Regions from separate parts of the Homo sapiens genome. Here all the other regions are linked to region 2. Evidence: promoter capture Hi-C in 16 types of primary human blood cells and fetal thymus (Javierre and others, 2016). All regions are on one chromosome and are shown on one strand. The core of a region is centred on a gene start or on the middle of the fragment in contact, and the rest is flanking DNA. Distances in the headings are between cores, read along the strand shown. Region 1 overlaps STXBP6 (syntaxin binding protein 6). Region 2 holds the start of STXBP6 (syntaxin binding protein 6). Region 3 overlaps STXBP6 (syntaxin binding protein 6). Region 4 overlaps STXBP6 (syntaxin binding protein 6). Region 5 overlaps STXBP6 (syntaxin binding protein 6). Region 6 overlaps STXBP6 (syntaxin binding protein 6).

The links. Contacts are between HindIII fragments. The CHiCAGO score rates a contact against its expected background, and 5 or more counts as called.
Region 1: a fragment that was not itself captured here is called in contact with the fragment with the promoter of STXBP6 in region 2 in 6 of 17 cell types (M1 macrophages, M0 macrophages, M2 macrophages and 3 more); the score reaches 7.0 in M1 macrophages.
Region 3: a contact is called between a fragment that was not itself captured here and the fragment with the promoter of STXBP6 in region 2, in 6 of 17 cell types (erythroblasts, M1 macrophages, M2 macrophages and 3 more). The highest score is 9.8, in erythroblasts.
Region 4: a contact is called between a fragment that was not itself captured here and the fragment with the promoter of STXBP6 in region 2, in 5 of 17 cell types (M2 macrophages, M0 macrophages, monocytes and 2 more). The highest score is 11.1, in M2 macrophages.
Region 5: a contact is called between a fragment that was not itself captured here and the fragment with the promoter of STXBP6 in region 2, in 4 of 17 cell types (M1 macrophages, M0 macrophages, M2 macrophages and 1 more). The highest score is 8.0, in M1 macrophages.
Region 6: a contact is called between a fragment that was not itself captured here and the fragment with the promoter of STXBP6 in region 2, in 7 of 17 cell types (M2 macrophages, M1 macrophages, M0 macrophages and 4 more). The highest score is 10.7, in M2 macrophages.

The regions. Positions count from the first base shown.
Region 1 is chr14:24,911,401-24,915,589 of GRCh38, reverse strand. The region is part of intron 2 of STXBP6 (syntaxin binding protein 6); the gene reads left to right. Among named protein-coding and RNA genes, the nearest start is that of STXBP6, 140 kb to the left of the region's middle. The HindIII fragment of the contact is 1,338 bases long and covers 1,491-2,828 here.
Region 2 is chr14:25,048,774-25,052,819 of GRCh38, reverse strand. STXBP6 (syntaxin binding protein 6) reads left to right here and starts at 2,673. Exons shown (of 6, transcript NM_001394410.1): 1 at 2,673-2,942. LOC124903295 (a long non-coding RNA gene) reads right to left here and starts at 2,476. Exons shown (of 2, transcript XR_007064091.1): 1 at 2,386-2,476; 2 at 230-594. The HindIII fragment of the contact is 7,485 bases long and covers 962-4,046 here.
Region 3 is chr14:24,856,866-24,860,590 of GRCh38, reverse strand. It overlaps STXBP6 (syntaxin binding protein 6), which reads left to right. Exons shown (of 6, transcript NM_001394410.1): 3 at 3,434-3,564. Among named protein-coding and RNA genes, the nearest start is that of STXBP6, 190 kb to the left of the region's middle. The HindIII fragment of the contact is 1,067 bases long and covers 1,546-2,612 here.
Region 4 is chr14:24,837,529-24,841,197 of GRCh38, reverse strand. The region is part of intron 4 of STXBP6 (syntaxin binding protein 6); the gene reads left to right. Among named protein-coding and RNA genes, the nearest start is that of GZMB, 210 kb to the right of the region's middle. The HindIII fragment of the contact is 3,105 bases long and covers 1-2,887 here.
Region 5 is chr14:24,892,122-24,896,101 of GRCh38, reverse strand. The region is part of intron 2 of STXBP6 (syntaxin binding protein 6); the gene reads left to right. Among named protein-coding and RNA genes, the nearest start is that of STXBP6, 160 kb to the left of the region's middle. The HindIII fragment of the contact is 4,896 bases long and covers 1-3,980 here.
Region 6 is chr14:24,873,790-24,877,732 of GRCh38, reverse strand. The region is part of intron 2 of STXBP6 (syntaxin binding protein 6); the gene reads left to right. Among named protein-coding and RNA genes, the nearest start is that of STXBP6, 170 kb to the left of the region's middle. RefSeq lists a silencer at 2,556-2,850. The HindIII fragment of the contact is 2,419 bases long and covers 755-3,173 here.

The DNA.
Region 1 (4,189 bases), core at 910-3,409, 140 kb after region 2:
ATGACTTTAAAAAAATGTCTTCAGAGCTTAGCTTCTTCACCAGAACAGGACTATATTTAAAAATCCAAATGATTTACCTAATGTATTATTTTTGCTAAGTAAGAACCAGTATCTTATGGTGGTTGGTTTAGGGTGAAATACAACTACAATGGTAATCATAATAGTAATAGTAATGCCAATGGTAATAGTAATAGTCCATTGTTTCAGTAGTGAAACAATCCATGCCCCACAGTTTGTGTGTAATGTCTGGGTAACTCAGCAGACCATCTGTTTGACTATGGCTCTTGAAAAACTTCACTTTTACCACTGTCTGAAGGAATTATATCAGAATATAATCCTGAACCATAGTTGAAATGAAAGAATTTACAAAGCCATCTCATTTGTGCTCTTAGTCATTTTTATTCTATCTCTACACTGATTGAGGTTGTTACATGAATACTGAGAGCACAAAGTCTGACCTGTGTAGACAGTAATGACATGAAATGCAATTGTGTATTTTTGTTAGCTCTGAGAAACATGACAAATTGTCCTCATCTGTGATTCCTCTCTCTTCTCCTTAAAAAAAGACAATGTTGAACCAAACTTTTTGATAAATAACTTCTGATAATAATGGTGAAAGCTGAGGGAGACTAATGTTTTGCTTCTCAGCAATCCTGCTGCCTGGCACTTGCATGTTTGAAACAGTCAAGAAGATGATTTTCTGAAAATGAGCAAAATCTGTAAAGCTAAGAGCTACATCCTTTGGAAATGTATGAGTGAAATACTCAAATGCTATCAAGCAAGCTCATAAATCTTGATTCATCGTTTGATCAAGATCATAAATCTCCATCAAAGAATTATGCACAAGCCATTTTTCTGATGTGCATCTTAAATGCAAAAGTTAAAAAAAGGAAGTCTTCATGACAACGGATAGCTTAGGGAAAAAATAGACAGCTGTAACAGGGAGCCAGCAGAGTTGTGTCAGGCCTGTGAGGGGCTGCGGCCCTGGCATTCAGGATAGTTGCATATGTTCTTTTAAATGAGGAAAAAGGGGAAATGGATATTTTATTTAGGAAGGGGGAGGATAATGCAACCAGCCTGTCTTTGAAAATTTGTTATTGTCACAAGTTTATAGATTTTTCGTCCTTTGACTAATTAAGGGCAGTATAATAAATTATTACAGTAGCCAGTATTTTGAAATTCATTTTTAAAAAAAGTAAAATAAAAAGCCAAGCATTTGACTATCCTGTTAAGATGCAAATATCATATCTCAATCTTGTGATTGAGAGTATATAAAATGGTGTCAGGCATATTAATAAGAAAGTAGTACTAATCTGTCATACTGAAAAATAAGGGAAGAGCCAAGGACAGTTTTAAAATATATCTTGTGACCAAAACTTGGAAGATAGTCTCGGGATGACAGATGATTAATTAGAAATATGTCAACCTCAGCTGCTAGGAATTAAGGTACCTGTAAGATAAAATCCATGAGAAATTAATTTTAAAAAGCTTTATTTCTTGCATCACAGTGGCATACTTTCTGATACCAGCTTTAGTATCTGTTACCAAATGACAGTGAAAGATGATGCATAATTTAAGGCTCAGTAAATCCCGCTAAGCCTGAGTTGCTGGAGAATGACACATTGACATCTAAAACAAGGCTCAGGAGATGAAAGGGAAAGGCCAAACTGCCTATCAGCTGTAATGTGTCTTGAATCCTTCCCCACATCCACAATGCTTCCTTGAGAAGAGACAATATTTCCCCCTGTTCTGGGGACCACTTTATTCCATTTCCACTTCCTTGGTGGTAAAATGTGAACCAAGATAGTAGCAGGGTTTTTCCAAAGACTATAAAGATTTTATCTCTCATTGTTTTTAATTAGTGTCTTTAAGACACAAGGTTAAACATGGAAATTATATACTATAGCAAAGCAAATTCACTTTTCAAATTGACTATTTAAAAACTTTTAGTGATGTCTAATTGTCTTACAGATTTTCCTCTTCTCAGCATACATCTGAGCTGGGGTTCTAAAAGAGATTGCAGATGTTTTCTTCTCAAAGTAGCCTCGGACACATACAATATGACCCATTCTTTGTTGTTGTTGTTGTTGTTGTATTGTTAATTTAATTTTTGTGGTTGACAAATAATGTACATATTCAAGGGATGCATGGTGATGTTTTGATACATATTATATATAGTGATCAGATCAGAACAATTAGCATACCCTTTATATCAAACATTTATCATTTCTTTGTGTTAGGAACATTCAGTATCCTCCTTCTAGCTATTTAAAACTATATAATACATTCCTGTTAACTATAGCAGATGACCCATTCCTTATTAACTGGTCCTCATCTCCAGGACTGTGGTTTCTCAGCAAAGAAGGAATCATTCCTGTTTGGCCAGTGAAGGAATGTGTGACCATAACTATTGAGCTGCTACTTTTTGTTGGAATCCCCTCAGTGGAGGTTTCCTTTTCAGCATCCTTTAAGATAATTTGAGTTTCATACCATTTGATGAGTCTGTGAATTACCCTGTAATTATACCCGTCTCCTGGCAGGGTAGGTGTTTGCAGCATTAAGATTGGGCTCATAACTCAGGATTGCAAAGAATAATTATGTAAGTAAGAAAAATAGGTTAAATCCCAGTTAACCTAGTGCTGGCTTCTGAAAATACCTGTGGTGGAGTTCCTGTTTTTAAATTTTCAATCTATTTAGACCAGTGTTTTAGTAAAATAGGATAAAAATAAATTGCTAGAAAAATGAAAAAAAGGCAAGTCCACATTTTTTTAAAAAGTAGTGTTATATTCAACTGACATGAAGTTACTCTGTCCATGTTCTATAAAGCTTCTAAGTACCTTATAGCAATTTTTTTCTTATTGCAGAACAGCACCAGATAGCATGGTCTGAGGGCCACACTTTGAGCAGCATTAATCAAGTGTACTCACATTTACTCACTTGTACCTCTTGCCACTCCTGGTCACCTTATTCTTTTAATAAATTGTTATTTAAACCTTAGATTAAGTATGCACTTAAAGTAAGGCTGTATGATTTTTAAATGGATAGATCTAATTGCAAATTCCTATACGTTGTTAAATTGTTATAGAAGATTTTAACAATTATTTGGCAAACACTGGTTGCTGCATTTCACTTTTTTTTTTTTTTTTTTGGCATTCACTTTCTATAAACCTTACCCAGCCACCTTTCCCTGTCACAATACCAAACATTATTATCAGGTGATTTTCAGTAACATCCATTCAAGATACCTTTTATATTTTAACTTAGTTCTTAAAATCTTGAATTATTTGATTGAAAAGCTAGTCTAGGACCTTGGTTTTGCTTAAAATTGAAAGGAAGAGGCTGCTTTAAAGGCTATAAGAAAATAATCACACTAAATTCTAACTCAGACCTCAAGTAGTTAAAAAATTATTTACTTCTACGAATTCCTTGTTCAGATTGGGTACATAGAAAAATAGAGTTACTTATGTACAATACTAGCTTGATGGGACTCTCATGCCAAACAGATACTGCCCACCCTTGGTGGTTATGTTAGTTTCTCTCTTTCCATTGCACAAGTTGAATACAGTGGTAATATTTAAATGGAAAAGACTCAAAATACCACACTTGCTGTCTTACAATATTTGGAGTGCTGCCATGTGGACAAGAAAGTTGAGTAACTCTCCGTGACTGGAGAACACACAGACTCATGGGTAGAAGACAACAGAGAGGCTGATTTCAATTTAAAAAAGGGTTTGTAAACATGTACACAAATGTGCACGTGCATATTTGAGGGAAGACAAGGAGGAACCAAAGAACTCTTCTGGTTTTTCTAAGCTATGTGCTCTGCTGCAGATGTGGCTGCTGGGAAAAGGGTGATAATAGAATAAAGGTTTGGAACACTCTGAGAAATGGAATGAGGCATTCACTGTGGTTGTGTAAAGGAATTGCCAAGCAGCACTGCCAGGCAAATGACTGACTGTTGGGCTGTTAGAGAGGACACTCAGGCGTTAGATATAAATTGGTCTGGATGACTGCCAAGGTGCTTTCCAACTTTGAGAAGCTGGTATCTATAGTGGAGACATCGTCCTGCTTGGTTTCTTTCTTTCTTTCTTTCTTTCTTTGGACATCCTCCTGCTTGATTTCTTTCTTTGGACATCCTCCTGCTTGGTTTCTTTCTTTCCTTCCTTTCCTTCTTCTTCCTTTCCTTTCT
Region 2 (4,046 bases), core at 1,424-3,923:
CTTTTGTGCACTGAACTTTTTTTAAATACCATGTATTATTTGCTAACAAGAATTAAAAATACAATTTAAAATGTAAGCAAAGCATTTCACTTGTTAAAGTACAGAACCTCTCCCTGCATAAATGTTTAGTTCCTGTTCTTCTTGTTCTTCTTTATGACCTTACCATTATTGTGATTAAAAAAAAAAAAAAATCCTAGGCACTGTGGGAGGTGAAACAGATGCAGAAGACTTTGACGATGGAAATTGCTATTTATTCTGCAAATATTTGTAACTACTTGTTATGTGACAGATCCTGGGCTAGGTACTTCCTCCTTTACATGACTTCTGGAAGGCTTCTTGTTTAAACATCCACGGTCTTTTTTGTTTTTGTTTTTGTTTTTGTTTTCTTTGAGAGGTCTGCATGCTTAAAATGCTTCCCATAGATAAGCAGTGGTTTGTTCTCCATGAATGCAGCAACAAATTAGGTTACCTGCAGGGAGAATCACCTCCCACACTAAGGTAGGTCCCAGGTGTTTGAGGCAGACACTACCGTGATGACCGGTACATGAGTTAGAGAACACTTTGTACAGAGGGAGAGAGTCCTCTTGACTAGATCTGCAATATTGAGAACAAAAAGAGGCAAGTGAAGATAAAAAAGGAAGGTAGTAGAGGGAGATGACTGGCAATAGAAGCTAGTACAGTAGTATCTTACTTCACAAAATTATTGAGTTACCCAAAAGCTGATTCCAAAGTTTTGTAAATATCATCCCAACACATTAGAAAGGCTTGCTAAATTAAAGAAGCTTGCTACTTAGAGCTTTTGTCAAGCAAAAAGGCCCTTATTTCAATTCAAATTTTACATAGATGACTTGTAGGTAAGAACTCTCAACATTTTCAAAGCCCTTAGACATACATTTCTTTGGATTCTCACAAAAACGCCATGAGAATTGTTTTCCCTTCCACAGATGAGGAAAGTGAAGCTTAGAGGTTGAGCCACTTGCCCATGGAAGCCTGGTAGGGAAATGGCTGAGGTTAAGACCAGGACCCCGGCACACTACTCATTGGCACTAAGGTAGCCCCATGACATGTCTCTACAGAGATAGGCAGAGCAAAAGAAACTTACTTTTTCAGGCAATTTTCTCTGATTTTCATAAAACTGTAGCTACCAAATGGGGATACCTAGGGTATCAGTTTTATGATATCCTAGGTATCCCCGTTTCTCCCATTCTTCCCCTCCAAACCATCTTCCTGGGTCTGCTGCCCTGTCCATCTTCACAGAATTCAGTTCGGATTGTCTCCTCCCCCAGCATCTCTGCTATCTCCACGTAGTCTACAAACTAAGTGCAGGAGCCACAGACTGACAGTCAGGACTTCTGCCTGAGCCCCCATCCACAGCTCAAACCCTCTTTCCTATTTCACTATGCTAATGCTTACCCCTTGCACTCCAAACAAGCAGGTCTGTGTACCACCATCTAACACCCCAACAGGGCCAGGCTAGGGTGAGGTGAGTCACAGCACTTAAAGGTTCACCAAAGAATTCAGTAATCAAGGTTAATATTTTAATGGAATATTTAAAAAAATCAAAATTAATATCAAAAATGCATGATGAAAAATAACAAAATTTTAAATAAAGACAGGGTAAGTTTAGGGGTTTTTCCTATTGCTTCAGGCTCAAAAGTGCCTTCCGGGGCACTGTTATCGGCCCTGCAGTGACTCCCCACACAGATACTTTTACTAATGATGTTTCCCAAAAGTTAGTTCTTACAACCGCTTTCTACATTAGTAACGTCTTTCTTCTTGAACGCTCCAGCATTTAAGTGTAGCGCTCTACTGTCAGGAAAACCCATTTCCCCTAGTAACTAGTAGTACTTCGAAGATATTCTGAATCATCTTGGATCCTTTCCAGCACTTTCCCAAACCACAGTGAGCACTCAGCACCACTTCGCTAAAAGAGTGCAGAATCACAATGCTCAAATCACTGTCTGGGGGGTTCAGCAGGGAGGGGACGCAGATATGTTTTGTTTAGTCCAGGGTGTTTTGAGAAAATTGAATTTGTTATCAAGATTTTACAAATCAGGATATTGTACATGAATATACTCCGTCATTTCTGGAAAAATCAGAAAATCTAGCAACACTAGGTCTAATTCTTGCCCGATAGCAAGGGACCCTGAGAGCAGATAAGCGGCCCTGCCTTCGGAGCTCTCTCCAGTTCGCCTTCCCCCAGTTACAGTGCCTGTCAGGCCCCATTAGATCTTTGAGTTTGCTATCGTAAGAATAAAGGAAGGAGCGCACAGGATAAAAACCCATCGGCTGGGTCTATTCGTTTTTTCCTAGAGAAAAAAAAAAATGTTTCCTGGTTGTCCTTTCGAATATAGTCTCACAGAGAAGCTCACAGAAGCAGCCCACCTTTCTAGCCCACAAACTTCCCACAAGCCGTGAAAGTCGCACCGGCTCTTGCACCCAGATCGGTTTCTCCCGGGTCTTTGGCTCAGGGCCCCCGCCCCTACATTGGCCTTTCCCTTCCTCTGCCACCTCCGCGCTCCGAGGCCTGGGGCGGGTCGCGGGTCCCGGCCCCCAGCCCCCAGCCCCTAGCCGCTGCTCTTTGCCCCGGGCCAGGGCGCTCGGGCTCGCCCACGGCGGCACTGAGCATGCTCAGAGGCGGCCGCGCGGGCAGGTTTGCTTCGCAGGCGCTCGCACTCGGCGGCGGGCGGGCGCGCGGCTGCAGCTGGAGCTCCAGCGCCCGGAGTTGGAGTTGCCGGGAGTTTCCCCCCAACCCCTCCCTTTTCGCGCGCGGCAGCAGGAGCCGGCGCGGGAGCCGCGAGCGGCGGCGAGCCAGCACCCGGGCCGGCTAAGCCTTGTCCGGAGCCCGGAGCCCCGCGCGGGGCAGCCCCCCGGGGAGGAGCCTCGTGCTCTGGGACGCGTGCCGCGCACTGGCACGGCAGGGGCGCGAGCCAGGCTGCACGGTAGGACCGGGGCGAGGGGAGCCAGGCGGTCAGGGCGGAGGCCAAGCCCGGGAGATGCGGTTGCAGCCGCCACGGCTGTTGGGGCGCCTGGCGCTCCGTCCGAGGCGGGTGGCTGTGAGGCCAGGGGAGTAGGCAGGCTCCCAGAGAGATTCTTCCAAGTTGGCGGGTGGCGGGAGAGGGGGCCGCGCGCCCCGGCGCAGCTGCTTTGTGCGCGCAGAGAGGGACTCGTGTCCCTGGTTCTCTCCAACCCTGGGACCCGTTGTGCGGGCAGTATTGGGCAAGCCGCAGAACGGAGCGATTTCCTCCGAGAAAGTTGAGGATGGAGCCTTTTTTTCCGCACCGTCCCCGCGATGGCATGGGCCCCGAGAATGCTGCCCCGAGGCTCCCAGTGTGGGGGAGCTCGGGGTCGCTGCGCCTCTAGCTTGAGCGCAGAAATCCGCGAATCACTCCGATCTTCGCGAACTCTGGCATCTTCTAGGAAAATCATTACTGCCAAAACTGAGGCGAGCTTTTCTGGCGGGCACGGCACCCTGCCCCCAGGGCGCTGGCCCTGGGCGATGCCCCCTTTCCGATCTCAGGCTTGGTCAAGGGCGCCAGGTTCCGAATTCGCGCTTGCCGTGCACGCCGGCATCGAGCCTCACCAACACCGCCGGGCAACGTGGCTGGAGTAGGTGGGTGGCTTGATTTTCCCTCCAACCTTTCCTCAGGTTTACAACACCCCGCCACCTCACCACCCCACCCCGTTCATCTTCACAGAGGACAGGACCTGCAGGTGGAGAATTTGGAAAGACATCTTGTTCTTTAGGAGAAAGTCCCCGGGGTGTATCTGCCCTTGGTTCTGGCCCCAGGATTTCATAACGAACCTTCTCCCCTTCCTATTACGCTTCCCTAGGGACTGGGTGGGAGAGAATAGGATCGGTAGGTCCGCAGGAACTTCCATCTCATTCCACCCTCTCCTAAGATTGCCTTCCGGGCGACCCCAGGACCCTGGAACTGGCATTGTGCGGATTGTAAGGCTGTGGAGGATGCCGACGAATTTTTCCTGGCTCCACTTTTTTCACTTCTTGTTTTGAGTTTTGGGGTTTTGCCTGCACACTAGTCAGA
Region 3 (3,725 bases), core at 830-3,329, 190 kb after region 2:
ATAGATAATTTGTCTCCTAGGCCAAACTGGTTTTCCTTTTTGGAATAGTTGAGGGATTATGCTGTGAATAATGAGAGTGTAGGTGTAACAGTGTGGCTTTTTGGAAAAAGTGGTCTTTCAGCCACTGGACCTTGAAACAGAGGATCTGCCTCTGAATCTTGGCGGTATATGAGCTCTTCTCCCATTTCACATAACATGCAAGTGACTTGTCTTTCTGTCTTTCTTCATTGGTCTTTGTTCCCTCTTCTACCAGTTCTACTTTCCTGACTTGTTGCAAGACCAATTTGTTATGACATGGTCTTTGTTATTGGCTGGCTTATTGGTTTTTAATTAAATAGAATTCTCTGATTGGGCACAGGCAAGGTCAGTGGTCTCCACCCTTTGAGTATAGCAAGTTTTCGAATTTTGTTTGTATAAAGTGTCTCATGGAGGGGCCATTTTTAAAAAGAGCTCTTTAGACCATTAGTTCATGAGACAGAGATGTTACTCCACTGGAGTAGTGATGGCAGTGATATTTTGGATATTCTGGACATAATAGTTTGTGTCACTGCTTCTTAACCAAAGCTGAAAGGTAGTAGCAAGTCTACATGAAAGCCAAAGAAGAGGCATGAAGCCATGAAAACCATGTTGTTTTTTCAGAGCTAATAGCAAAGCGGCCTGAATTGGGTTGCCCCCATGCTTCTGCCTGCCTCTGATACCAGTGCAGGAAGCCGGAGAATCGGCTGCTTCAGAGTGGTCTACAGTATTACCTGGGAGTCATACCCACCCTATTCCTTTAAATGCCTCTGTGTTGGTCTCTTCCCTGTGAATGTTGAAGCCATAACGGAAATCCCCTGACCTTTAAAGTCATTCAAAATAATGACTTTGGGAGTCTCTAGCATGCAGCTCTATGATATTACTGATCCAGATAATTTGGTTGCATTTTCCAGGGTGTACTGTCAATTAGCTTTCCTTTGGAAAGAGAAGGTGAATCACTGTTTTTCACTAGACATCTGGATTTTGTGTGACTGGCGTATTTTTTATCAGCTACTGACTCCCAAAACAACAAAACAATGAAATAGTTAAAGCATGCTTTCCTCAAGTATGTACTCAAAAAGTCTGGCAATGGTGTGTGTGTGTGCAAGTGTTTTGATTTCAGAAGGGGAAAGTCTTAATTTAACTCTATACGATGTGTATATAATAATATAATTTTAAGACACCTGCTTCAAAATAGAAACTAGGATGCTGGAGATAATAACAATAAACAAAAATTAAACCAACCAGGCTCAGTGCCCAGGAAAACTAGCCAGACTCCAAGAACTGGGCAAGGAATAAACTAATAGGGGAGGAAAGGCAGGAATGGATAGAGTTGCAACTGCCTCCATTAAAAATGACTGCTCTGCAGTGTGATCACTGTGGAGGAATTCCATGGGGTCATTTGTCATAATAGTTGGGGTTCCTGCATGCCTCATTTCAATGACAAACTTTCAATGGAACTTACCTTCCTTAGATGTGAATCTTAAAACATGCCCGCAATATACAGTGATCTCGAGTTGTGTTGAAGCTTTTAAAATGCTGTAAATTACTTGGAAGCAAATGGACCAGAAGTGAAAATAGGAGCTCATAACAACTTTAAAGTTAGAAAGAAAGCCTTTATGTTTCCCAGGCTTAAATGTTGTATGATTTACATAAACACAGGAGGAAATTCTCTTTGTGCATTTAGGGGTGTGTGTCTAATACAGGAACCCATGTTTTCCTGTTATTGAAAAGCCTTTTTTAATCTTTTAAGCACATTTTAAGACCTGCCTGTATTCCAGGTGTATTGTTTTCTTTAACATTAAAACGTAAGAGCAGGTCACAGCCATCAGAGAAACCTATTAGGTCTCCCATTTGTGTCATAGGAGACACAAAAAATAAATGAATCGAATTAAATGGATAGACAGAGTCCTGGGCAGACTGGTAATACTGCCTGAATTCAATTAGAGGGAATGGTTGTTCCTATTTGTGAATAGAAGACTATAAAATTTCATCTGATTGTGGGTGTTAAGGGGATGATGACTTCTTAATCATAAAAGTAAATGTAATTGGTATGAAATATTCAGAAGTTTTTAGCAAATATAACTGAAATAATGGGTGATAAACCAAAACATTATTTGAACTTAAAAACAAATCTTCACTAAATTTTGGTTGGAAGCAGAGAGAGTAGATAGTACTCAGGCCATAAAGGTGGTTTTCAGTGCTGGGAAAGTAGGGTTCTCACTAGATCTAAGGACAGTGGCCACCTTTCCTTTGTCTCTGCTCTCCTGCTTTAATGGCCCCCGACAATGAAACTGCAATAAGCTATGGAATGCGTGAACTGTAGAGTCTCCCTGCTCACCAACTGTGATTGGAGTAGGTGCTTTCTGTACTTCATCCCTTCAGAATTCTTTTTGCCATCTGTTGAGCATCTACATAGTTATTCGAAAGTGTGGAATCTGTGGGGTGATTCGAAACAAAGAATATGCCACAGATGCATAGTCTTCAGCAAGTCAGTAATTAGGATCATCTTCAATATAGCCAATAATGATTTCTACTTTCTGTAGTTCCTTTCTATTTAATTTGCTAATTCCTATAGCCAGGGTTCAGGAGAAGCTTTTAGGAAATCCCTTTAAAGACAATTAATTACTTCCTACCCTTGAGTCTCCATGTCACAAAGTAGGCAGATGTAGAAATATTCAGAGTGCCTCTCCTGGTGCCTGATGCTTGGCTTCAGTCTGAGAGGTGATGCTGTCCATCTTTAGCACAGAAAGGCTTAGGGGAAGAACTCACTGAGGCTGAGAGAAGAAATTGTCCTTTTCCTACAGGTGTGGAGGTGTGCCCAGAACACCAGATTCAATCATAATTAGATGCAAACTAGATACAAACTGAACAATATTAGAGAGCCAAATAGTTTGGGGATTTTTTGAGTTAGGGATTACTCCTCATCACTGAAGCCTAAGATGTTTACACTGGACTATAAAACTAGAAATATACCTTGCAGTTCTCTAGGGGAGCCAATTACCTTCATTTCCTTTCAAATTCAGCCTTTCCCAGTGAACCTTACCTGATGCCTGTCAGTACTATATGCTTCTTTTCCTGCAAGCTGTAATTGTGCACTTATAGCCTCCATTGAAGGTGCTTGGTGTTATTCACTTAAGTCATTTTCAGTTTGAATGGATAAACACATAAATGAAGCAGCCCTTACAATTATAATTATATTGTAAACTGCTTCAGAGTGGAGATTGTAACATCTATTTCCTTTACGTTCACCCCTGACCAAAGGCACACATATTTATTCATATTCCCTCCTTTCCCCCTCTGCCTTCTCTCTGTTATTGTGCATATACACAGTAGGTGTCCTGTAGAAACAGCACTGAATGTGGAAACAAACCACCAACTTGCAGGTGCACTAATCTGAGTGATCTTTTCTTGGCAGTGACAAACAAGAAACCCACACAGGCGTCCATCACAAAGGTCAAACAGTTTGAAGGCTCCACATCATTTGTTCGGAGATCACAGTGGATGCTCGAGCAGCTTCGCCAGGTTAATGGTATCGATCCTAATGGGGTGAGTGAATTGTCCAATGCTGAGCAAAGGCATTCTTTTCACAAGATGACTCTCTGATTGACCTTGGTAGTGGTAGTGGTGGTTTGAATCATTCTTAAGAAGGCTATTTCTCTATTTCAATTATGTGATTAAAACTTTCGGATACAGAGTCCTTTCTTATG
Region 4 (3,669 bases), core at 86-2,585, 210 kb after region 2:
AGAAATACAAAGATATATTCAGAAAAGCAAAGACTGATTATTCACCACCTCTAGACCCTTGCTGATAGAAGTATTAAATGATGTGCTTCAACATGAAGCACACTGAACCCAAAGGGTAGGAGTGGAGTGTAAGAAACTGTAACGATTGCAAACATGGTAAAAATACACTGCCAAACTTAATTGTCTTAATGATTATTTTAAAATTACTTGGAATGTTTTCTTGAAATAACTGGAGATAAAATTCTAAACAAAAGTAATAAGGAATACATGCTGTATGTTCAATGGATAGTTAATCCATGCTAAAGTTCATTCCAAGAAGGATAGCTACTGAATTAATTTGACAGGAAAAAAAAAAAAGCAGTTACATTTGTTAGACTTCTAGTTTTAAAATGATAGAATATAAAGGATAGTCACCTCTTTTCTTGAAAATTATCCAAAATCAGCTCAGAGAATTTATGAGGGCAAACTCTATCTCTGATGAAATGAGTGTCTGTCTCGAATTACAAACTCCTGTATGTGGGGAAGAGTTGACAAATGCAGTAAAGGTGAAGGTAGATTCCCAAGAGAGAACTCTCATACCTGCAGTCTCAGATAAAGCCTAAAGCCCTCAGAATGAAATGATCCAAAGTGTGTGTCAGTAATCCCTTCTTTAGAACAATGGAGCAGAAGCCAGGAAAGCTCTGGGAGTAATGGGCCCAAATTGGCACAGTGCTGGGACAAGCAAGGCAAGAAGGCTAAACAAAGAATCACACTGTCAAAGCCATGTTGTCAGGAATCAATCTGTTGATGGGCTAAAGTGGAGGAAAGAATCTGAATTCCAAGCAATCCTGTGGTCGCATCTTGTTGAGGAAAAGTAAAGGCTCAAGAGGCCTCTGTCACATACACAGCCCTGCATCATAAGGAGAATGCCAGCTAGCCTGGAAAGTAGTCCTCTTCCCTCCTCAGTACCATGAATCTCCTGCCAATAGCTGTTCACCTTATTTTCAAATCAATGATAATCCCAAAGGAACCAGCAGAGGTGGTTCCATCACTCACCATAAGTATATCCTTGGGCAATTTATAACCTGTCTAAGCCATGGTTTTTGTTTTTTGTAAAATAGAGTAGTAGTTCTCCCATACAGTACTGTGGGGAGGATTAAATAACATAATATACCTGAAACACTAGGCATGCCTAAAACACTAGCTGTAATATACCTAAAACATATCACATGATAAGGAGTCAGTAAATATTTACTGATGACAAAGATCAGCCAGGTGGAATTCTCAGGGCTGAGAACTGACTTGCCTTCTTTGTCCTCTTTCTCTCTAGAAAGCGGTGGTTAAGAACACAGATTCAGTAGCAAGAATTCTAATTCAAATCCTACATCTTTTATTGCCTACCATTATGATTTCAGCCAAATTATTTAGCTGACCCTCAGTTTTCTCATTTGTAAAGAAGGGATAATAATAGTACCTATCTCCCAAAGTTGTTTTGAGGATTAAATGAGTTGTCACAGAGCACTTTGAACTTTGAACAGTGCCCGGCGCTGAGTAAATACAGTACATATTAGCTATTAGTACTTTTCTTTTTCAAGAATGACAAGTCACACAATATACAAGATTACCATACTTTTTGGGTTTTTAGGGACAGTCACCTCAGAGATGTGATTATTCAAACACAGAATCAAATTTGACTAAATTTTTTTTCAAGACGTAGGGTATAATGTCCTGTTGCTCAATTGTATATTCTAAATTTTGATTAGGAGACTATGGGATAATGTATCTATAGATCATGAACCAAATTCTCTTTTGCTTATGGTTAGTCCTTTTTTAAGGTAAATGAACAGCATGTGTTGTATGAATTGGTGATGTGCTGGTACCAACCAGTTGTGATAACTTACTAGTTACAACCCCAGAGCAAAGATCCACAAAAGAGAAAGGAATTCCATTCCTTTCTCTCCGTGTGGGAAATGTCAGATTAGGACTTGAACAGCTTGCTGCTGATCTTTTTGTTAAGGGATGCTGTCAACACAGATATGTCTAAAATTAGAGATCAGAACAGAAGGAGGGCAGGCGGGGACAGACAATGCAACTTTCACTCACAATCACAGAACTCAACTCCCGTGTAGTTGCTTGGCCAGGCTCCCAGTTGAGAAGGGAGATTTTGTAATGTTTCCAGCCTTCATTTTATGGCCTGTTGGACTTTTTATGATCTGGGCTCTCTTTTACCTTTTTTAATGGTTTAGGTTTTTTTTATTATTGTTTCATATTCTTTAGCCTGGTTGACTTTTTAATCTCAGCCTATAGAAAGCATCACAATTTAAATCTCTTAGAAATTTTCAAATCGATAAGAAGTAGCAGGAATTAAATAAGGAAGGGCAGTTGAGTTGTCTATGAATGTAGCTGTTTATGCTCAATCTTGCTCACTCTCCCTCAGAACATTTCTAAAAGGAATTATTAGCCTCTAGGTGCTTAATAAGACATGAAAGGGCCCTTAAGTTACTGGCCATTTTTTCTTTTTTCTCTTTTTTTTTTGAGACGGGATCTCGATCTGTCACCCAGGCTGGAGTGCAGTGGTGCGATCTCGGCTCACTGCAACCTCCATCTCCCGAGTTCAAGCGATCCTTCTGCCTCAGCCTCCCGAATAGCTGGGACTACAGGTGCGAGCCACCACGCCTGGCTAATTTTTGTATTTTTAGTAGAGATGGGGTTTCACCGTATTGGCCAGGCTGGTCTCGAACTCCTGACCTCATGATCCACTGGCCTTGGCCTCCCAAAGTGCTCGGATTACAGGCATGAGCCACCACGCCCAGCCTGGCCATTTTTTTTGAATGTCCACATTTCCTCCAATTCCACAGTTACAGACCACAGCAGATATGTTGATGCTTATTTAAAAACCAGTGAAGCTTGCTGGGCATAGTGACACACACCAATAATCCCAGCATTTTGGGAGGCCGAGTTGGGTAGATTGCTTGAGCCCAGGAATTCCAGACCAACCTGGGCAATGTGGCAAAACCTCATCTCTACAAAAAGTACAAAAATTAGCCAGGAGTAGTGGCATGCACCTATAATCCCAGCTACTTGGGAGGCTGAGGTGGGAGGATCATTGCTATGCACTGAGATCGTGTACTGCACTCCAGCCTAAGCAACTGAGTGAAACTCTTTCTCAAAAAATAAAAATTAAAATTAGAAAAAACAGTGAAGCTCTCAGTTGGGAAACTGAATCTAGATCTTTGATCAGAATTTAATAAGAAGGAAAGATTCTTTTTGGCAGCCAAACTCCAGGAGATTGTTAGCTGTTGTTCTTCCTTTCCAGTTGTTATTTCCAGCCATCCACAGCTCACCAGGGCATCTCTGACACTTACCCTCCCTGGAGATGACTCAGTCTGGCAGACATCTCTTAGGATGGGAAAGTCTGAGAGATGTTCATACAGCTTGTCGTGTTAGAGCTGTATCTTAGACCCTTTTAATTAATAGTAGTATTATATGCCCTATTTATTGATTGACTCTTAATTTTTAATTTTGCAGAGATTAATTCTGTCCTAGCCTTTGCCGAAATGAGCACAAGTTCCTGTAGCAGAGCTCTAACTTGACTGGGATGTTAGGTGTTCTATGTGTACTCAGCCCCAAAGTCCTGGGACCTGAGAGTTCCAACCTGCTAACACAGTTCCTCCTGCCCATCACTCCCAA
Region 5 (3,980 bases), core at 694-3,193, 160 kb after region 2:
GTCAGAAATGCTGCTGCCTATGCTGTATTTAGGTTTCTGAGCTTGGAGAGATCCTTCTTGTAGCCCGTACTCCAGCCCCTCCAAAGACACCCCACACTCTTCTTTTTGGTGTCTAATAATGATTTTGACAAACACAATAATTAATGTAACTACTGTTCAGTGAGTTCTGTGTGCTGGTACTGTGTTAATCACTTTACATAAACTATCTCGTTTACTCCTCAAGACAACCCAAAGAGGAAGTATAATTTTTGCCTGTTACTGGTGAGGACCTCATGCTCAGAGAGGTTAGGCAGCGTGTTCGTGATAACACAACTAATGAAGGAAGGGAGGGATGTCAGCCCAGGTGAGCTGCCTGCAGAGCCTATGCTCTGATATTGCTCCAGCTACCACTTTTAACATTTAGTGTTCTGACTTACTATTATAATGGAAGCCCTACCCTATCTTCTGCGTATTTGAGAGGATTTGTTTTTTTATTCATATCTTCGAATGTCTGTGAATGACTCTGACCTCAATCCTGTATGTGTCTGGACCTCTACTAGAAAGCATTTGGCATATGGGTAGCTTACCCAACACAAGGATACACCACCAGGAGTGGCTGAGTGCTACGGGAGCTCTTAACAGAAGAGAAAGTTATTGCGACTCCTCCTAACCGCCTTCCTTTCACTGGACATGAATGCCAGTAAACCTAGTCCTGTTGTTGAAGTCAGAACTGAAGAATGGGCCCTCTAGATAGAATGTAAGCACATTGCATTTAAATCTCTTTTCCTTAATGGTACAATTAGGCAGGGATAAACAGTGTTAACATGTTGGAATTCCTCGTGGTTTTTATTTCCTGGCTACAGTCAATCAAATGGTCATTTCACAATGAAAAAAATCTGGACACTTTTGTGTTCTGTGCCTTGCTCCTTTGCTGCTGATATTGGAAAATACCACTATTTTGGCCAACTATAAATTAGACTGATTTCTGTGAGAAAAACAGTTCTTGGGAACATTTAGTAGCTTAACACGTGGACCATGGTTAGTGTTTGAGATAAAAATAGAGATATTGACTTGGGCTTATTCGCTTAGAAAAAAATCTCATTTTAGAGGTTAGTACTAACACACGAGAAAGAAAAATAGCCAGACAAGCTCAAGGCAAATATCATAAAACCAGTGGGATATGATATGGAAGGAGCTAGAGAAATTTTCCTGAGCATTAAAAAAAAAAAAAGAGAGAGAGAAATAAGGAGAAGAGTTAGAATGGAAAACTTTTAAAATAAAGATTCAGGGAAGTTGTGCAATTGGGAAGCCACGGTCTCCATGAGCCTTTCGTCTGCTAGCTACCACTTTGTACACAATGCAAGAGTTCCTTAGGCTGGTAGAGAGGGGTATTCTGTCCCTGCCCCATTGTCTATAGAGAAAAGTTAATGCAGATGTGAGCAGAGTTGTGAGATGTGGTAAGTACCCCATAAAGCAAACACATGTGAGCAAAGCAAACTCTCAGGTGATAAATATAGCCAAAAGAAAATGCTGTGTTCTATGGATTGGGGGATATGGAATCTGCTTAGGGCTCTTCTCATCAGCATTAAGTTTCCTGTCTGGGGGACACTGACCTTTCCTGGTTCTCCCCCAGTTAACTACACTATCTCTAGTCCACGCTGTCCTGGTTGTCTAGTAAATATTTCCACCTGACCTAAATCCAGGCCAATACAGCACCTCCTGGCATCCCCTTGTATATTCCTACATGGTTTACTACATCACCCTCTAATCACTTTCCCCAACCTAGATATCTTAGCATTAGACTTGGACTTCCAATTCTTTCACCTTTTACATTCAAGAGAGTCCCTAAGTCCTCATCATTTTACACTGGTTTATTTCAGACCTACGTCTTCTCTCTTATGAGACCCTGAGATACTTTCCAAATTGGTCTTTGTCTTTTTGTCCATTTCCATTCAGGCAATCCTCAACTCTGCAAAAACTTTTTTATTTCTAAAATGCAAGCTGAATTTTAATAGTCTTGCCTAATTTTCTAAAACCATGTTCAAATTCCCTAACATGACTTAATCTGTTTCCATTCTACTTTTACCATAGAACCTGTATAACACATGTTTTTTTCTTTTCCCTGATTTGATGCTATAACCCTATTTCTATGATCCTTGGTCCTGATTTTTATTCTTATTTATATTTAATTATCATTTTGTGTTATATGGTCTTTTTATAAAATGCCACTAACCCAAAAGAGGAATGACTAGACTGAAGTTCAGACTTAGAATTATTTTACTGTAAAGCTAGCTGTTCCTTAAAGGCATTGATATTTGTGATCTTACAGTTACTAAGGAAGTCTGTTTTCTAATTTGGGAATTTCTGGAAAATGTTAATGGGAGGTACATATATTTTATTGCCATTTGAAGACAACAAAATGAAGTAACTGACCATTGAGTATCCCTGTAGCCCTAATTTTTATTTGTTAGGCATTTGTGTTAGGGATTATTCACAAAACTTTAGTCATAATTGGAAGTCACAGGTCCCACATTAGTACCCCATATTTTGCACAGATGGAGGCTTTTTTGTTTTTATATATATTGCCTGTTACCTAACACTCTTAAGTGCTTGGGAATTTCCCAACTGAGCAAGACAGCACTGCTTGGCGAATAAGAACACAGACCCTGAAGCCAGATAGCCAAAGCTCTGATCTCTGTTCTGCAACTTAGCTGTGTGGTCTAGAGCAAATTCCTTAATTTTTGTGTACCTTGGTTTCTCCATGTGTAAAATGGATTTAAGTGGTAAGTTCTTTAGGTTTGTGGCCAAGATTAAATAAGTTAATATATGCAGAATACTTTGAATAGGTCCTGGCACATGATAAGCACTCACATCCCAAGTGTTAGCTATTGTTGTTTTTGTCATTAGAGCTGTATTGTTCATACGAAAGGCTAGTTTCTCTGTAAATATTACTATCATTAGATCAAAATCAATAATTTTTAGACAGTCACTATCTCTGGGCATTTGAGTCTCTGGGATCTACTACCACAGCTCACCTAGAAAACAGTGGTCAGGTTGTGTGCACCATACCTGCAGGAGAGACAGCCCAAGCCCCTCTGCAGCCTGGCTGTTGAGAGTGCCATTCCTGGGCTCTCCTGCTGAATGTCTCTTGGCAGAGCACTTCAAAGCAGCGGAATGTGGAAAATGAGGCTCATTCTGCTCCCTCTTCAGGGCTGTGGGAGTTCTAGTTACAGTAATTGATAGTTGAGAACGTGCAAGGTCCACTCGGCTCTCTCCCATTTCTGCCCAAGCCCCTGCTCCTGCTTGATAACATCTTAGTAATGTGCCTCATATTTGATGTTCTCCCACATGGCCCATTGCAGCTCTCATGGTCTGCAGGCCAGATGGAGCCAGTGTGGGAACAGCATGGCCCGGAGGATTGCAACTCAGTGCTGTCAATGGGATGCCAGAGCACAAGGACCAGAGTTCAGAAACCTGCTCTGGCAGTCTGCTCCGAATGCTCATGGAAGACAACATGGAGAGGGGGCGGGGGGTCCCTGCCCTCTGCATGACTTTTCTGGGAAGAAAAAGACTCAAACCAAGGGGTGTGGTTGGCCCAGAATCAGAATTGCTTTCTAAGGATGCAACTCCATGATTTCTTCCTCCTCAGAATTATTTCCCCCCTTGAAGAATATAGAAACATCTGGCTCATTTACCAAGTCCTCTGGCAACCTCTGAAATTTCTAAAGCAGAATAGCTCGCTAGATACATCAATTTAAAAAATTCTAAAAATAAATACTTCCACCTAAAATCAGAATTTGCACCTAGAATATTTTTCTTTCTCTCCCCTTTCTTCTACCCTCTTTTCCCCCCACTTTCCTCCTTGTTTTCCTTCCACTTTTTTTCTCTCTACTGACCTCTTTCCTTTTTAAAAAAAAAAAATAATGTATACATTACCTTTGTATTGACTGTCTGCATTGCATAAGATGCTCTGAATACATGGGGGAGCAAGACAGACACTA
Region 6 (3,943 bases), core at 715-3,214, 170 kb after region 2:
CAGCATTGTTTGCAATAGTAAAAGATTAGAAACAACTCACTATCCATCAGTGGGGGACTGGTTAAGTAGTTCATGTTTCATCCTTAGAATGGAGTTAATGTTATGCAGCTATACAAAGTAGGAAGAAGTTTGCTGTGAATTTAGATTTTTTCCACGAATCTTGAGGAGTTCCGAGATAAAATAATAAGGAAAAGAGGGAAGGAGGGAGGAAGGAAGGAAAGAATATGTATATAATATGCTACCTTTTGTGTAAGAAAGGGAGGAAATGAGACTGTTTATTGTTATTTCCATGTAAAGAAATTATCTAAAGGTATACAGGAAGGCAGGGGAAGAGGAATGGAAAGGAGTAGATGGACACAGAGATGGGAGTAAGATGTCTCAATATGTTATTTTTTGATTGTGTGAAAATGTATTGCATGTTTAAAATAAAATTTTAAAAAGAACAAGTAGTCAGCAAGCACTGGCAGCATTTATAAAATGGTTTTGAGGTCTTTGAGTACAGACCATCATAAAAGAGCCATTGTATTCAATTAGCAGATGTCCAGCCAATGTCTTCTGGATGCCCCAGTGAGTGACCAGATTTCTAATATGTTCACAGATGTTCTTTGTTTTGTTTAACCACGCTATATTAATAAAGCTCATACTTCTTAGCATTCCCTATAAGCTTAAGCAATACTGATTGCAATTAGGCCAAATATATACCTGCTGAATTGAACTCTTCAAAGTAGAGTTTTATGAGAAGGGAAGCCAAGCTTAAAGAGTGAAATATTTTGATAATCCCTGGCATATAAGAAAATTTAAGAAAACCAACCAGGCTTAACATCTTCAGCTCAAAACACTACTTAACTGTGTGTTAAATTATAGTGCCAAAATTCATTCACTTTCCATTTGCATCTGATTCATCATTGCTCTAATTTTTAATGTTCTTAAACATTACCAGTTGAAGCTGTTAAAATCCAGTAAGTGCCTTCGCAGACCCAATTAAATGCCCAATTACCAATTTTAGGCTCTTGACTTACATTTTAAAATTAAGTGAACCTTGCCCTGCAGCTGAATTGCTAATGGATAGCGTATCTCAAGGGAAGTAAGATTCTCAGTGTTCTCTCTCAGGAACATCGTTTCCACAGTTTAAGCAGAAACACAAGTACATCATTGCTGCTTCTATGTCAAACCCCTTGTGCTGCCCCATACTAATGTGAGTTATAACTATGGGTGTCCTTGCAAGAAGAGGAAGGAGATTGAGGGCAAACATGTGTTGTCAGAGCCTGGGCAGGGGCACTGGAATAATTTCCTTTTCAAGAAAATAATAGTGCCTTTGTGTTGAGGCCAGGAAACAAGATGAGGAAGTTTGGAGTTCTGCTTTTCAATATAAATATGTATTTAACAAGATTACTTCCTAAACATTAAGTTTGAGCATAGAGTATCCAGAATTCTTGGCCAGGATATGAGTTGCCTTAAGATTCATCCCAGGTCAAGGCAATCTAAAAGAAATCAGCTGCTCTCTGGCTGGCTTTATTTCTGTACCTGTAAGGCAGGCCTTCCCGGTTAGTAGGGTTCCTCTTTTTAGTTATGGAAGCACAAGGGTAGTTTCAGAGTTAAATGAGATCTGCCTTGCTTCTCTTTTCCTTGATCCTTATCAGCCTTCCACCCACAGCACAAATGACACTGCTTTCATAAAGAAGCTGTCCTGCATCCACCAAAAACCCACCTCTCACCCCACCCCTCCACTCTGTTTGGTGTTATACACTTGTGATGATAATAAATACACAGTGCCGTATTTATCATATCCTGCCACTATTTCAACGCTTAGGAACTTGTCATTTCTCTTCTGAAATGTGAACCCCCTGATGAATATGACTGCACTTCAATCACCTTGTACCTATTTCCACCCCTCAACTCATTTCCCCTCCCGCCACCCTTACCCCTTGTGTCACTTTTCCTTCAGTATGCACACAGTAAATATTTTTTGATGAATGTTATTTGTGCCTTCAGATTTTTCCAGAAGAATAGTCACACTGCTTTATGATTCAAGTGTTGGCAGTTTAAATTCCTCTTAAGTGAAATAGAAAATTTACATAAATGTCTCATATTCGGCTATGATTCCCTCCAGGGGAATTTAGGAAAGTTATGAGCATAACATCTTTCCACTTTCAACAGAATAGATTTCTCATAGCATGAAGCTCCTTCCTGCCAAGAGTCCTCCCCTTGCTACCCCACCCCAACAGTTCATCCAACAATCTTTTTAAGAATCTCAAATGAGTCCTAAAACAATGCCTGGACATAAAGAGTTGAAGATTCTTTGTGTGTTGGACGTTTAAAATGAATAGACATTATACATTTTCAGCTTTTATGTAAAGATCAATCATACTATTTTTATCTATAAAGTGGTATTCTGTTTCTCATTTTATCAGTGAGATCTCCAGGCTTGAGAGAAGGGGCATCACAGTGGGCAGCATGCACTTCTGTGACTCATAGAATTGTGAGGGCGCTCTTAGGGTCTTTCTCATCTGGTGTTTTTGAGACCCAGATAGGAAAAGACACATGTAATGTCCATGGACAGGTAGGCAGAATGGGCACAGGACCCCCAGCCTCCTGACTCCCGGTCCAGGGCTTTCTCTCCGATGCTTCCTCCCTGTTAGAGCTGCTGCTGTTATTCAGTTAGCTGCAGTCAGTGCTAATGGGTACAAGGTTCATTCTCCATGTAGAGCAGCTTCCTTTGCAGAAGGGATTGCTTAGTTTCTAGGCCAAATCCTGTGCTGTTTTGGCCCATGATGGAGCAGGCGAGGAATGATAGGGTGATTTGATAGCAGAAACACTGGCTTCCACTGGAGAGCCATTTTAATGAGCGTGTTCCCACTCACAGGGAGTCAGGAAGGAGCATCCCCATCCTCTCAGGAGACAGCCGGTCGATGTGTAATTCTTTGAAAGAGCCACCGTGTAGTGCTGGGACCCCTGCAAAGGGACCTTGTCTAAGACCCCCAGCAGGAAACATGTTATGGATTCTCACATAAATTTCCTTCTACTTTGTTGTCTCAGCAAACAACTTTTTTCTCATATCTGAAAAATAGTCACTTAATTAGCTTTACTCTTTGAATTAAAATGACCTTCTACCTGTGACAATACATGGACCATCCTAGCTTTCTGCTTGGCTTTATGCTTTGGTGAACAAAGCTTGTTTACATTTGGGAGCGATTTGGATTCTGGCTGTGTTTCTCCAGAGCCTTTCAAGGATAGTGGCTGAGACGGCATGGGTGGGATGGACCCTATAGCATAATAAAGTCTGTACCCGTCGGTGGAACTAGGGCAAGGGGCTTTCCACACTCTTCTGAACATACCTGAGCAACACTCTATGGAAATGTTGGCTAGAAATGGAGGCTAGTAGTATAATGAGTCCCATAATACAAATCTGAAATTAGGGCATAAGCACTGGACATCAGAATCTGAGTGACTATCCCTCTCATCTCCCTTGTCCCTAGCTTTAATAGGGATGCCCTCCCCACAACACCCTGCCCTCAATTCAGACGACTGGCCAGAAAATATTCCCTGTACCCTCAAAAGGAAGAGAGAGGGAGTGAGCAATTTTCCAAGGAAAAAGCAAGTGGTTTTTTTCTTCCTCCATCTCTTAAAAATTGCCGTTACTTAAAATTTGGAAGTTCCCGTTTGGAGTGCTCAGTGAATACTAACTTTAGTTTGTGATCCTACAAATGCTTCCCTTATCTCATTTGTAGGGCAGCAGAATTGACAACGAAGGGCTTTTGCATCTGCACATCAGCAAAAGAAGGCATCTGTCTATCCAAGGTGGGCATGGTGGTCTATGCATTGTTATACATATTGTCTTAGGAAAAGAGTATGCACAGGAGTTCAGGCAGACACAGCCAGCATCAGTTATGCTTGGACACTGTTCCTGCATTCTTGTCCTACACCCTCATTGTTCCCGTCATTC